Regions from separate parts of the Homo sapiens genome. Here all the other regions are linked to region 2. Evidence: promoter capture Hi-C in 16 types of primary human blood cells and fetal thymus (Javierre and others, 2016). All regions are on one chromosome and are shown on one strand. The core of a region is centred on a gene start or on the middle of the fragment in contact, and the rest is flanking DNA. Distances in the headings are between cores, read along the strand shown.

What was found. The method cuts DNA at HindIII sites, captures the fragments that hold promoters and counts their contacts. A CHiCAGO score of 5 or more calls a contact.
Region 1: a contact is called between a fragment that was not itself captured here and the fragment with the promoter of FASTKD3 in region 2, in 5 of 17 cell types (naive CD8 T cells, total CD4 T cells, naive B cells and 2 more). The highest score is 12.3, in naive CD8 T cells.
Region 3: a fragment that was not itself captured here is called in contact with the fragment with the promoter of FASTKD3 in region 2 in 1 of 17 cell types (total B cells); the score reaches 5.9 in total B cells.
Region 4: a contact is called between a fragment that was not itself captured here and the fragment with the promoter of FASTKD3 in region 2, in 9 of 17 cell types (total CD8 T cells, naive CD4 T cells, naive CD8 T cells and 6 more). The highest score is 20.7, in total CD8 T cells.
Region 5: a contact is called between the fragment with the promoter of ATPSCKMT here and the fragment with the promoter of FASTKD3 in region 2, in 16 of 17 cell types (total B cells, total CD4 T cells, naive CD4 T cells and 13 more). The highest score is 32.9, in total B cells.

Annotation. Positions count from the first base shown.
Region 1 is chr5:5,505,016-5,508,052 of GRCh38, reverse strand. No RefSeq gene overlaps it. Among named protein-coding and RNA genes, the nearest start is that of ICE1, 84 kb to the right of the region's middle. The HindIII fragment of the contact is 5,351 bases long and covers 1-3,037 here.
Region 2 is chr5:7,867,462-7,870,280 of GRCh38, reverse strand. FASTKD3 (FAST kinase domains 3) reads left to right here and starts at 1,250. Exons shown (of 7, transcript NM_024091.4): 1 at 1,250-1,302; 2 at 2,085-2,819. The coding sequence starts at 2,198. MTRR (5-methyltetrahydrofolate-homocysteine methyltransferase reductase) reads right to left here and starts at 1,133. Exons shown (of 15, transcript NM_002454.3): 1 at 1,066-1,133. RefSeq lists silencers at 631-680, 741-790, 801-1,240. The HindIII fragment of the contact is 2,367 bases long and covers 314-2,680 here.
Region 3 is chr5:10,231,649-10,234,663 of GRCh38, reverse strand. All of the region lies in intron 4 of ATPSCKMT (ATP synthase c subunit lysine N-methyltransferase), which reads left to right. Among named protein-coding and RNA genes, the nearest start is that of ATPSCKMT, 17 kb to the left of the region's middle. The HindIII fragment of the contact is 3,492 bases long and covers 20-3,015 here.
Region 4 is chr5:5,486,845-5,489,544 of GRCh38, reverse strand. ICE1 (interactor of little elongation complex ELL subunit 1) reads right to left here. Exons shown (of 19, transcript NM_015325.3): 19 at 1-396. The coding sequence ends at 215. Among named protein-coding and RNA genes, the nearest start is that of ICE1, 66 kb to the right of the region's middle. The HindIII fragment of the contact is 1,891 bases long and covers 309-2,199 here.
Region 5 is chr5:10,248,497-10,251,196 of GRCh38, reverse strand. It overlaps ATPSCKMT (ATP synthase c subunit lysine N-methyltransferase), which reads left to right and starts at 1,309. Exons shown (of 5, transcript NM_199133.4): 1 at 1,309-1,339. The coding sequence starts at 1,324. CCT5 (chaperonin containing TCP1 subunit 5) reads right to left here and starts at 917. Exons shown (of 11, transcript NM_012073.5): 1 at 752-917. The coding sequence starts at 856. RefSeq lists silencers at 320-459, 530-599, 1,350-1,409, 1,420-1,539. The HindIII fragment of the contact is 6,282 bases long and covers 948-2,700 here.

The DNA of each region.
Region 1 (3,037 bases), core at 146-2,645, 2.4 Mb after region 2:
CTACCATGCTCTCTCAGCCTCAGGGGTGACATAATTATGCAGATGCACCCAAGGGAAACTTTAATTTTAGTGCAATTTATACACGGAAGTGCTCAGATCTCAAGTATACCTTACGGTGCCTGTCAAGACACAGAGCATCTTCCCCGTCCCAGAAAGGCACCTAATTCTCCTTCCCGTGAGTCCTCCACTGCAAAACCTGCACTGATCAGATTTCTGTCACCCTCAGTCTCTTGTGCTTATTTCTTCAAGTTTGTATGGATTAAATCACCTGGGATGTACACTTCTGTGTTTGCTGTACTCCTCTTAGCCTGTTACTCTTGAGACTCATGCATATTGTGTGCTGACTGCTATCCAAGTGCATGAGCAAAGCATAATTTACCCACGTGTTGATTAAACAATCCAGGTTTGACTATTATAAAAGTCTTTTTTGTAAAGGAACTTTTATGAATATATTGCATTTATTTTTGACAAATACCTGGGAATGACATCACTGGGTCATAGGATGGAAGTATATTATTTTAGGAGAAGACAGACAGTTTGCCAAAGTGGCTGTACCATTTTCCACCCCTGCCAGCAGCAGATAAGCATCCCAGGGCTCCGCATTCCTCCCAGCACCTGCTGCAGTCAGCCTTGGGCATTGCAGGTCTTCTAGGGCAGCATGCGGTAGGAGCTCCTGGGGTGTCTAGTTTGTATTTTCTTGATGGTTGATGAAGTTGAGCAGGTTTTCATGTGCTTATTTGCCATTTTTATGTCTTCTTTTGTGAACAGCCTCTTTGCTTTTTTTCTCCTTTAAATTGTGTTCTTTGTCTTATTATCATTGAGTTTTAGAAGTTCTTCATGTAATTTGGATACAAATCCTCTTTCTTATGAATACATTCTCACAGTCTGTGACTTAACTGTTTATTTTGTTGATAATGTTTTGTGATGAAGATTTTATTTTTTTTGAGACAGGGTCTCATTCTGTCACCCATGCTGGAGTGCAGTGGTATGATCTTGGCTTACTGCAACCTCTGCTTTCTGGGCTCAAGAGATCCTCCCAGCTCAATCCCCCAAGCAGCTGAGAGTACAGGAGCGATCCACATGCCTGGCTAATTTTCGTATTTGTTGAGCTCAAGCAATCCACCCACCCCGGCCTCCCAAAGTGCTAAGATTACAGGCATGAGCCGCTGTGCCTGGCCGGATTGTTTTATCTTGATGAAGTATAATTAATCGTTTTTTAATTTTATCAGCATGTTTTTTGTCTCCTAAAAAATCTTTGCTTGCCCCAAGATCACAGACGTAATCTTCTGTGTTTTCTTCTAGAAGTTTTATGATTGTTTTAGCTTTTACATTTGGGTCCATAATTCATCTCAAATTGACTTTGTATGCAGTATATTAGTGATCAAGTTCTTTTTATAGTGGATCTCACATAAGGCACATTTTAAAATATAATTACAAAATATTGATTACAGTTGACTCTTGAACATTGAACAATGTGGGGTTAAGGGCACCAACCCTCTACACAGTCCAAAATTTTTTGACTCCCCCCAAATTTAGCTACTAATAGCCTGTTGACTGAAAGCCTTACCAATAACAGAGTTAATTAATACGGGTTTTCTATATTGTGTGTATTATATACTGTATTGTTACAATAAAGTAATCTAGAAAACAGAAAATGTTATTAAGAAAATCATAAGGAAGAGAAAATGTATTTACTTTTCATTAAGTGGAAGCAGATCTTCCCAAAGGTCTTCATCCTGGTTGTATTTTCTTGAGTATGCTGAGGAGGAGGAGGGAGAAGATAAATTGTTCTGATTGTCTTAGGGGTGGCAGAAGCAAAAGAAAGTCTGCAGGGTTCAAACCCATATTGTTCAGGAGCAACTGTAATAGAGTAGCAATATAGACTTGCTTCCATTTGGCTGTTAACACGGGATTTGAAAACTGGCTTTAGTACACCTGAGAGGGTTAGAGAAACTCATGTAATTCACCGCCTCCTCTTGCTTTTCCACTTCCTCTACTTGGGACTACTTTGACTTACTAACCACATTTATTTATCACTGTCGGTTTCCTTGCTGTCAAAATAGAAGTTTATTTTCATCCCCCCTGTGTGTAGCACAGCACATGTGACAGACATTCTCCAGATGGTATTGCCTCCCTTGATATTTTTCTCTCTTTCCTTTTTTTAAATTATGAAATTTACCATTCATGGATATATATGCACAGTTTAAAGAATAAACATACTCTCTTTTTCTCCCTCATACACAAATTTATAAGGTTTTTTATAATTATACAAATATGTACCCTTTTTTGGTGCTTTTCATTGCTTCTTACAGGTTCAGGGTTAAATCTGTTATAATTTTTCTTCAGCCTGAGACAATTATCGTAGTATTTCTTTTTTTTTTTTTTTTTTCCTTTTGAGACAGGGTCTCCCTCTGTCGCTCAGGCTGGAATGCAGTGGCATGATTGTGACTCACTGCAACCTCTGCCTCCTGGGTTCAAGTGATTCTCATGCTGCAGCCTCCCGAGTAGCTGGGACTACAGCTACACACCACCAGGCCCAGCTAATTTTTGTATTTTTTTGTGGAGACACGGTTTCACCATGTTAGCCAGGCTGATCTTGAACTCCTGACCTCAAGTGATCTACCTGCTTCAGCCTCCCAAAGTGCTGAGATTTACAGGCATGAGCCACTGCACACAGCCAATTGTGGTATTTCTTAAAGAGAAGGTCTGATGGAGAGAAATTCTCTTAGCTTTTATCTCTTGAAAATGTATTTATTTTCCCTTCATTTTAAAATTAATCTCCTTTTTGAGATAATAGTAGATTCAGATACAATTGTAAGAAATGCAGAGAGATCCCACATATTTTTTACTGAGTCTCCTCCAATGATGACAACTTACAAAATTATAGTACAATATCATAATCAGGTATAGACATTGATACAGTCAAGATGTAGAACAGTTCCATCACCTACAGGATCTCTCATGTTGCCCTTTTTTAGAAACACTTAACTGTCTCTTCCCTACATCCATCCATGACCCCGGTAACCATGAATCTGTC
Region 2 (2,819 bases), core at 1-2,500:
TTGGTTCTTATTTGATCCTAACGCTAAACAAACTAATCATAGTACTAAAGGTAACTGAAGCACATACTCTCCTTCATTATTTAATGCAAATCAAAAATATGTGAGTGTATGGGCATATATACAAACGGGTGCATATAACGAAAAAATATTTCCAATCCACTTAAACATTTTACTAACACGTTTTTCCGCAAGAGATAAGCAGTAGTAAAACAAACGACACTCACAGATTTTTTTCCATACTCATCTAACGGCTAAAATTGGTGGGCTGTCAATTTGCAGAGACAGATTTAAACTGAAACCCAAACCAAAAGCTTGGCTTTCGGTGAATGAACCGCCCAGAACGGCACCTGGCATGAAACTGGTACTCGATAAGTTATCTGAATGAGTGAATAAACAATATGAAAACACTACACATTGACAGCTCACAGAAAACGGTGGAAACGATAATGAAAACCTTACTACAGCTAAAATTTCTATCACTTCCCATGAAACACACATCCTGAGGGCTTCCCAGGATCAATCAACCCCTCATCCCTGCTACTGCCCCACAATCCGGCACCACCTTCCCACGACTCTCAGCGGAGGCCCGGGCCCCAGCAGCCCCGGAAGCGGCGCGGAGGCGGTGGGCAGAGCTCACGGCCGCGGGCAGAACTCACGGCCGCGTCCCGCCGGGTGGGCGCTCGGAACGTCCCGGGTTCCCCGGAGCGCGCCGCCCCAACCCGGCATGTTCCCCAGTTCCCCGCGTCCCCGAGTGCGGTTTCCCTAGGCCTGGAAAGCGCCTAGAACCAAAGGCAGAACATGAGGAGAGACCCCACGCCGCCCAGGGGCCTCCCGCGGCAGAGGCCGACGCCGAGCCCAAGGACACGCTCCCGGGGACACCAAAGCCAAAGGCCAAAGGCCAAGTCCGAGCCCCAGCCCGCGCCCGCGGCGACCCCCGGAGGCCGAAGGGCGTGGGAACCACGGGCGCAAGCCGGCTGCCCACCCCCGCCCCGGGCCGCCTCTCCCAGGAGATTAGTGCAGGGCGAGCGGCCGGAATCCGGGAACCGTAGCCGACAGGCAGCTTACCCACGCCGCGCCAGCCGGGCACGAACCTGCACAACGCGACTTCCACCAACCTTGCGCCAGCGCGCACTGACGCAGCGCCCATGCTCGGTACCCAGGACCAATAGAAAGCTCCGAAGGGGACCTGGGCCAATCACATTGCGCCGCCCTGAGTCGTGCTCCCGCCCCGCGTTTGCTACGGAGGCCCACGACGCCCAGGCGCTTCCGCGACCACCCGGAGTGATTGCCCGGCAGAGCGCGGTAGGTGTCAACGCGGGGTCTCCGCGCAGTTGGTCCGGCTGGGTGTCAAAGACCTGGCCGGCTTTCTCCTCAGGCTGCGCCGCCCGGCCCGTGTCTCAGCGCAGGTCCCCGGGGCGCCGAGTTTGGGGGTGCTCGCCCCGCGGGTCCCTTTCATTCCTAGGAAAACGCGCCGCGGGGCCTCCCGTCTGTCTGTCTTGCACACACGTGTTGCCAAATCCCCCCGCACCGTCTTTAGATCTGGACTGGCCGCCCCACCTTCTCCCTTCATTGATCTATGTTTTGCTTTTTCTTTTCCTACCTTGTTTCCATTGACAAAGTAGACCCTTTCCTTCAACACTAACCTTCTCCCGACACCGAGGGGAAACCAACAGCTTAGGGCCTTTCCAGCGCGTTTTTACCCTTGCCTTGCTCTAACCTCGCCTAATTTTGCCCACTTTACCTGTTCTTTGATTTCTATCCAAATGCAATTTCTTCCTTCAACCAACATTTAAGGGCCACCCTTAAGAGCTACATTGCCTGAGTTTGAACCCTAGCTCTGCCACTTAACCACCTGCATAAACTGGGCAAAGTAACTTTGTGCTTCAACTTCTTCCTCGTGTAAAATGATAGTAAAAGTACTGAATCTGTGTAAGTTAATAGAATACCTACAACAGTGTTTAGCAAGTAATAGCGATTGTTATTGTTCAATGTCAGCCACTCTTCTAACTCTAGGATGCAGAGACTTTGCCCCTCTGGTGTTTATATGTTAACCATCCTTTTTTTTTTTTTTTTTTTTTTTCCAGATACTCGTTTGTAGTTTCATAAACATTGATGTTGGGTCAATCATGTTCTCAATGTATTTAACCATGTGTTTTTAAATTTTTTAATTTAGTTATCAAATTGAGAATCTGATGGTATGGCATTAATCACCTTGAGGAAGAACCTTTATCGTTTATCTGATTTTCAGATGCATAGAGCTCTGGCTGCTTTAAAAAATAAACCTCTAAATCATGTTCACAAGGTAGTCAAGGAGCGTCTGTGCCCTTGGTTGTGTTCACGACAACCTGAGCCTTTCGGGGTCAAATTCCATCATGCCCATTGTAAAAAGTTTCATTCGAAAAATGGAAATGACCTTCATCCACTCGGTGGACCAGTGTTCTCTCAAGTATCTGACTGCGACAGGCTTGAACAAAATGTTAAAAATGAGGAGAGTCAGATGTTTTACAGGAGACTGAGCAACTTGACTTCATCAGAAGAAGTGCTAAGTTTTATAAGCACGATGGAAACCCTGCCTGACACTATGGCAGCAGGAGCTTTACAACGAATTTGTGAAGTGGAAAAAAAGGATGGTGATCAAGGGCTGCCAAAAGAAATACTGGAGAATAGCATCTTTCAAGCTTTATGCTTTCAGTTTGAAAAGGAGCCCTCACAGCTGTCAAACACTAGTTTAGTGACTGCTTTGCAAGCTCTGATTCTGTTGCATGTGGATCCTCAAAGTAGCCTGTTGCTGAACCTGGTGGCAGAATGCCAAAATCGTC
Region 3 (3,015 bases), core at 516-3,015, 2.4 Mb before region 2:
ATGGTCATGGTGGGAAGCTTTTGCTGTATTGCTGGTGCACAGACCATGGAAAGAAATCCCTTTTCACGTTTCAAAGTCTATCATTGTAGCCATAATAAAATTGGCAGAATTGAATGTTTGCTAAAATGCTGTGATATAGCTGATAGGGTTTTAATTTTTTAAAAAGACAATTTACCTTTTTTTATTTTGTTTTTTAATTAATACCCAAATTTTTGTATAAGACATTTCAGTGCTTGAGAAATGTATTTCTACTACTAAGACCTTCAGTATAATGCCATATTCTTTACTTTTAAAATATAATTTAGAAATGCTTTTGTAAAATATTCTTTTTTTTTTGAGCCAGGGTCTTGTTCTGTTGCCCAGGCTGGAGTGCAGTGGCATGATCTCGGCTCACTGCAACTTCTACCTCCCTGGTTCAAGCAATTCTCCTGCATCAGCCTCCTGAGTAGCTGGGACTACAGGCACCTGCCACCACGCCCAGCTAATTTTTATATTTTTAGTAGAGGTGGGGTTTTGCCATGTTGGCCAGGCTGGTCTTGAATTCCTGACCTCCAGTGATTTGCCTGCTTCGGCCTCCCAAAGTGCTAGGATTACAGGTGTGAGCCACTGTGCCCAGTCTTGTAAAATGTTCTTGAAAGTGACAGTATCCTGTACATTTATAATTCTCATTAGGCCTAAAATTAAGACCAAACTTTGGTATTCAGCCTTTTCTTATAGAAGTGAAATGAGGTAGAAGGGCACACTCCCTGGTCATTTTTAAAAAACTGATTGGGATCATAGATTGATACGCAATTTTGATGGTGATTTATTACCTGTGATGTTTGGGCTTTCGTTCTAAAATGGAATTGTTAGCTTTTTGGAGACAAGTAACTTTAATTTGAATCTGTGCTTTATAAAAATAGAATGTTAGCATTTACTGGAAATTCCATGCGTTGTGGAGAGGCAGGATGATGAAATCAGGATTACTTGTCCCAGCGGGGGGCAGCAGTGGCCTTTGGTAGTCATCGTCACTCCAGGACCTGTGGAGCCGACTCCGGGTGCTTCTTACCATGTTTGAAGTAGACTGACTCACTTTATGGAGCTGTTCAATCAGGGGAAATAAGAGTCTTATTATTTATGAATACTTTTGTGATTACTGTCCATTCTTCTGTATGTAGAGAAATCTGAAATAAGGAACATGTACCATTTCACTATTCCCAAGGAGAAAGGGGAGCAGCTGAAGGATACAAAGTGTCCACGTTCCCTGTAATAGAGATTTGGCCAGCTTGCTGTCTTCATGCTGGTGGGTCGGTCAGGGGTGCGGAGGCTGGGATGGCTTCTGTTGGTTTGGAAGGCTAAGTTTTGTGTGTGGAGGCCCCTACTTTCAGCCTTCATCAAGCTGTGTCTCAGTGGAGGCCATGAGGGGAGGGGGCGTGTGCTGTGCCAGTCGACCATCCCAGCCGTGGCTGGGTGACTCCACAAAGCCAGCATGCCATGTGACGTTCCCTGCTGATGCCCAGGTAGATACTCAGAGAGCCAGGGGAGCCTTGGGGAGGCCCAGAGCCAGGAATCTCTGGGGCTGTAAACCCTCACCCCTGCTTCTGATACCAGACTGATGATCCCTAACAGCTCTGTGCGGTTGTAGCTCAAAATCAGAGGTGCCCTAGCATTTCCACACAAGTATGTATCTATCTAAAAAGGAGCAGGAATCCCATCTGGATCTGGTCAAGCCAGTTGTGGGGTTGTGAACATCCATGTTTAACATGAGCTTACGCACTGAGAGCATCTTTTCAAAGTGCAGAGCAGATCAGCCTTGCTCTTGTGTAAAACCCTTCTGTGACTTCTTGCCGTTTTTAGGGATAAGGCCCAAATACTCACTGTGGCCCTGAGGCTGGTGCGCAGGGGCCCCTGCTCCCCTCCAGCCTCCCCTGGGCCATGCTGCCCTCAGCTCTCTGCACCAGCCCTCCGTCCTTCTCTCGGCCCCCTGGACCTCGCCATTGCTGCTCTTCCCAGAGCCTGGGGTGTTTCCTTCCTTCTGACTGTGGTCTCCCTGGCTCTGGACTTCGTCGAACAGCACTGACCACTCATGGGCCAGCTGTCTTTTCCTCTGCAAGGCAGTCCTTGATGACAATGAGGCGAGCTCCAGCGGCCCGCTTTACTCTCATATAGTACCTTGTTGCCCTGTCCTTAGATGGGTTATTGTGCATTTCTTTGTCTGAAGGCTTCGACACTGCTAGCTGTGTGCACTGCACCATCAGCTCAGGGGCAGGGACCAGGCCTTTCTTCTTCTAGCTGGCCCAGGCCTCCAGCACCGCAGCACTGGCACAGGCATCACTCAGTAAACGGTTGTTGAATGAATGAATGTGGTCTAAATATACCCATTATTTATACTTTTCCCAGAAAGCTATCTACTTTCATAACTTCAAAGAATGACCAATTTTAGTTACAAATTCTGTTATGAATTTTTTTTTTCTTTTTTTTGAGACAGAGTCTCACTCTGTTGCCCAGACTGCAGTGCAGTAGAGCGTGATCTTGGCTCACTGCAGCCCCAGCCTCCTGGGTTCAAGCGATCACCTGTCTCAGCCTGCCAAGTCGCTGGGAATACAGGCGTGTGCCACCATGTCCGGCTGATGGTTTTAGTTTTCGCAGGGACAGAGTCTCACTATGTTGCCCAGGCTGGTCTCAAACTCCTGGGCTCAAGCAGTCCTCCGGCTGCAGACTCCCAAAGTGTTGGGATTACAGGTGTGAGCCACCATGCTTGGCTTTTATGAACTGATGAACAAAAATATTATCATTATGTTCTAGTGAAGAAAAATAACTCGTAGCTGAATCACTTTTTCTTCCTTCTTTCCTTCATTCATTTGACAAGTGTGGCCACTATAGCAAGCCCTGTTCTAATCGCTTGGAATACTTCAGTGAGTACAAGAGAAAACACACCTGCCCCAGGTGCTCATATGCTAGTGGGGAGAGCAGATATTACATGAGATGCCTGTAGAAGATGCATCATACAGCAGAAGCAAAAGTGCTGTGGAGCAA
Region 4 (2,700 bases), core at 5-2,504, 2.4 Mb after region 2:
GCCTTAAGTGAAACGTATTAGATTTAGGGAAAAACGACTATGCGACTGCTTGTTTCTCCTGTCTCCTTGCCAAACAATAAGGAGAGCCTCTGGTCTGTTTTATCTATTTTATGTCTTTTTGTTTTGAAACCTCCCTTTGTATTCTGAAAGCTGATCAAACTATTTGTGTTCAAAATGTGTCAAGGCACTTCTCAAGCCTCAGTGGCATCCCAGGTCAGCCAAGCTCCTCTGTGCTCAGGGCACTGACTTCCTCTAGGCAGCTGACAATCGCAGACGGAACGCTTTTGGAGGCCTCTCTCCGCCAAGCTTCCAGGATCTTGGAAATTTCTGCTGGATTGCTGGGACTCAAGTCACAAAGAGCATACACGGCTGCTAACTGTATACCCCATGGTATATCTGAAAAGAAATTTCAGATCAGTCATAAAACAAGAAAATATCTGTTATTCAAAATTTTAGTGATGTAACCTACTGGAATACTATTCAAATACAGAATGCTTTCTGCCAGCAATGAAAATTAAATATAAAAAAACCCACAGTAAAAAAATTCATTTAAGACCTGTCCACAAATAAAAAAGAAGAAAAGCCAGACAGTAGCTGTCTGTAGTTTCCTGGCCCCAGCAGTGTTCTGAGGACTGTTTGTGTGTTTTTAAAAAGGAGAGGGCCTCCAAGATCCCAGTCACCCACGGCCACGACTGAGCTTCCCAAAACAGTTCTGGAAGGATCACACTCCCATATTTAAGTTTTAATAAAACGTGATCCTAAAACCTTCATTAAACATATGACTCTATGAGATATCCACGGGAAGCATTTATAAATGGACTTTGGAAATGAGAAAACATAATAAGAGATATAATGAAAAACTTTTTGTAGCGTACCATACTTTCAAAAACTACAGTGTATGATTCTGGATTACAGCTAAGTTATACATTACAGTGTATTATCACAGTTCTCTTTTAAGGTAAGTTTATTTCAGAGTTATGAAAATTTCATTTACTTAGATAATTTAGGTTAAACAATTTAGGAGTTAAAGTTGGAGGTTGCACTGTATTCCTACTCCAAAAATCTGAAATCCAAAATGCTCCGAAGCTGAAACTTCTGGAGCATCAACATGACCCACAAAGGAAATACTCACTGGAGCATTCTGATTTTCTGATTAGGGATGCTCTCAACTCATAAATATAAAGGAAACACTCCAAAATCCAAGAAAATCTGAAGTCTAAAACACTTCTGGTCCCAAGCATTTCAAATAAAATATACTCAATGTGTACCTCAGTTTTCTCCAACAAGGTAAACTAGCACTATTTCAAATAATACAAAAGCCCACACATTCAAACATGAATGCTGACAAGCAGGCACAACTGCAGCTCTTAATATTACTCCCCCCCATAAACCACAAGCAATGAGAAAGCACAGAGCACGGGGCACACAGTAAGGCCATGACTCAAACAAATAAAAAAGTGTAACAGTAAGAGAAACACAAGAGGTTAAAAATAATTTTAATAAATAACAGCATGTGGCACTATTTAAAGAGCTAGCTCTGGAGAGGGACAGACCTGGGCAAACAGCAGGGATGGCACTTCCTAGCCTCACCTTCAGCAAATCACTCTTCTCTCTGAGCTTTGGTTTCCTCCTGTATACAAGAAGGACAATGCCATCCACTCAGATGGCTGTCTTGGGGATCCCGTTAGGCTGTGGGGCAGTGCCATGCACAAGGTCTAATCTATAGCAGGCCCCAACATCAGCTCCTCCTTCTCCCTCATGGGGACGAGGATTACCACAGCTTCTAGGTTACACCCACTGTAGTATCAGAGTAAACTGCATCTGCTGGCAAAACAACTCATTAGCCATTATTCTGGCTACTTTCTTTTATGTCAATATACAACCTCAATTGTAAAAAAGTACACTGTAATATGGAAGAAATGTGTACCACTTCAGCAGCTATCCTAAAGTTAAAGAAGGTATTTCAGATAAAGCAGCTTAAATGAGAAACACTGTTCTCATTAAGCTAAATATACAGTCTCCCACTGAAAGCTGAAGACAACCTACCATGTTAAGATCATCTTGGGTGTTATACAGTATTTAAAATGTAACTCTGTGCATTTCTGATGGCATGTTGCTTAACTGTATTATTCCTTGATTATACAATATTCAAAATAAAAACTAGATTCATCCCTTATAAGAGTTACTTTGAGTTAAGCTTCTCCCACAAGAGATAAAATTACATGCTATGCAATACGTAAATGATAATAGAAATCCCCACTACGAAGCCTTGCTCACAAGGTCTCCAGGTTTCCAAGCTCTCCCCCCTTGATGCTAAGTACTCTGTGATACCTGGCATCTCACTGTACATCACGGATTTCATTCCGTCAAGACACAGCTCCACCCAGGAGGCCTCGCAGAGAGCCCAGGTTAAGTCACTTGTCAGGGATCACACAGTACAGAGTTTTAGAGGCAGAATGTTAGCCGCAGGAAGAGAAGAGACTTTCTTCTTCCTTAGGAAAGCAGTGCCCAACAAGGCAAACGACTTTTATTTAAGTAATCAAATACCACCACAAAATCCACACACACATTCCAATATTAATGCTGGAATGTTTTGCAAATATTCCCTAATCTATGAGGCAGCAAGCAAAGCACAGAGCACAGCACACAGCAAGGACCCCAAAAAAGGTTTAACTATGAGAAACACAAGTTACTTAAAAG
Region 5 (2,700 bases), core at 60-2,559, 2.4 Mb before region 2:
GTAAGTTAAAGAAGTCAGTGCTCCATTAAAACCGGATGGCTCTTCCATTCTACAACGTGCCATGCGCATTCTTGCCCAAGCCTTTACTTCTACCGTTTCCTCTCCCTAGAATGCTACCTCTCACCCCGATCTAAAGCTGTCCTCCAGCACCACGCTTATGTGCACCCTCTCCGTAGCTGTCCTTCTCACTGCACACCACCTTGTATTACGGTTATGTGCGTCCGTTTTTCACTCTTCGCTATTTTTCCTCAAGGGTGGGCAAAAAAGCACTCAGAAATGAAATACCCTGTTAAGTGACCACACCTTTACGAGTGACAAAGAAAACGGAAGGGCCGTTGCGGGTGGACCAGCGAAAGGTTAAGCAGCAGCGCCTTAACCGACAGGTGACAGAGCATCTCCCCGGCGCCCTCCCACTGGAGCGCAGTCCCACGCGGCCGTCAGGCTGGAGGAGCCGGGCGGGGAGGCGGTCCCGCTTTGCTCCCGCGGGCGACCGGACTGAGCGGCCCCACCCAGCTCCGAAGGGCGCTGGCGGCCCAGCCTGGCTGGCCCCCACATTCCGAGCCCAGGATTAGGCGCCGGCGTCTCCCGAGCTCAGTAAGCGGGCTGAGCGGCCGGAGACCGCAGGGAGACGGAGATTCTCGACCTTTCCGGGGAGCACATGGCAGAGCCGCTCCTCAACTCGCGCAGGCGCAGAGCCACGGCCTCGGCCACCTCCCCTTAGCCCACCGCGAGCAGGTCCCTGTGCCATTACCTTGAGGGCCTCAAGTCCCATAAGACGGGACTTGCGGTCCTGATCCTTGATGATGAGGAAAGGGCGCCCATATTCATCGAAGGCGAGGGTCCCCATGGACGCCATGGTGCAACAACCGGAATTACTTCCCCCCAACCGGCGGAGACCGCTACGGAAGCGAGAATGCACTTCCCTTTCTCGGGAGGGCCCAAAAGCTTGCGCACGCGCAGCACAAGACGCGCGGGACTTATGTTTCTACTGAGACTAATTTCACGCCAGACAGTATCTTCTGGAATCGGCGGCCTTCGGGAACTTCTATTATCCAGGAAGCCGGGGAGGGGGAGGTTTGAAGACACTTAGTGGAAATCTTAGGACACACAAGTCAAGAGCAGATTGAATTTGTCATTTTTTAAAACGTTACCACTGATAGTTTCTCGATAGTGGGTCCCAAGGAGGAATTCATTGACTTAAAGCACTATTTCTTTATTTCTTCGCACTCCGGCTCCGAGAAGATGGTAGGACCCATTTCCGGTTTTTTTTTTTTTTTTTTTTTTTTTTTTTTTTTTTTTAAAAACGCTGTTGGAAATCTCGCGATGGAGGGAGGAGGAGGTGAGGCTGGAGCGGCTTGGCGGGTTCCTGGGGGCATGAGAAGGGGTGCGGGCGGGCCGGGGGCTCGCGGTCAGCTGAGGTCTCCACTGTCGAGGCGGTGACCGGGTGCGGGCGGCTGCTCTGGCCTCCAGCCTGGCCTTCGGTGACCAGAGCTCCTGGTCGCCGCGCGGTGCCCGCGCCGGTTCTGGCGATCCTTGTCGGCGGGCGCGTTTCCCCAGAGACTGTTCTAGGCTACTTAGTGCAAGTGACTCAGCCTTTGGCACGATCTTAAGGAATAGGGATAGTGGAGGCACACTGATGGATTGGAATCGCAGTTCTGCCGCTCTTCCTAGCTGTGGCTTTGAGGAAATCCCTTAACTTCTTTGTCCCTCGGGTTCCCTGTCTGCAAAGTGACGGTGGTAACAGTAGTGCCTACTCACAGGGCTGCTGTGAGATTCAAGGAGAACGGTGCCTGGCAAGCTGAACACAGTGTTGGTAAATAAATTAACATTTTGCACAAATGGTTCAGTAACTTGCCACTGGTATACAGCTAGTAAGAAACAGTTACACAGCCTGATGCAATGGGTCCCACACTCTTTTTTTTTTTTTTTTTTTTTGAGACAAGACTGTAGCCCGGGCTGGAGTGCAGTGGCGCGGTCTCGGCTCACTGCAGCCTCCGCCTCCCGGGTTCCAGTGATTCTCGTGCCTCAGCCTCCCAGGCAGCTGGGACTACAGGCACAGAACCACCACGCTCGCTAATTTTTGTATTTTTAGTAGAGACGGTGTTAACGCCGTAGTGGCCAGGCTGGTCTCGAACGGCTGACCTCAAGTGATGTACCCGTCTAGGTCTCCCCAAGTGTTGGGCCTGAGCCACCGCGGTGCCCGGCAGGTCTCACTCTTAAGCCCTGTATTATGCTGCCTCAGAAAGATCTTGGCAACCGCAGCTGTCCTCTAAATCTCTTATGCTGCCTTCCTCCCCGCCCTCCAAGATCATGACTTAATATTTGATAGGTTTAGATTTATTTGTTGAGGGTTTCCATCCTTGCTTCTCCCCTACTGCCATGGGCAGGGACTTAACTAATAAAGTTGTATTATTCCCAGACTTTATTAGGCACTCAATAAGTGCTGAAATGAATACATGCACTATAACATTTGACCCTGTCCTGAAACTCAAGAACAGACTTGGCGACTGTGTTCCCATCTACTCTGGGGCTGAGGCAGGAGGATGGGTGGAGCCCAGGAGTTCAGTTTACAGTGCGCTATAATCGCGCCACTGCACTCCATCCTGGGCGACAGAGCGAGATTCTGTCTCTAAAAACAGGGAGGACTGACTGTCATGGGATGGTTGGTGATCTGTTAACTCTTCATGCTTGGCATACTTA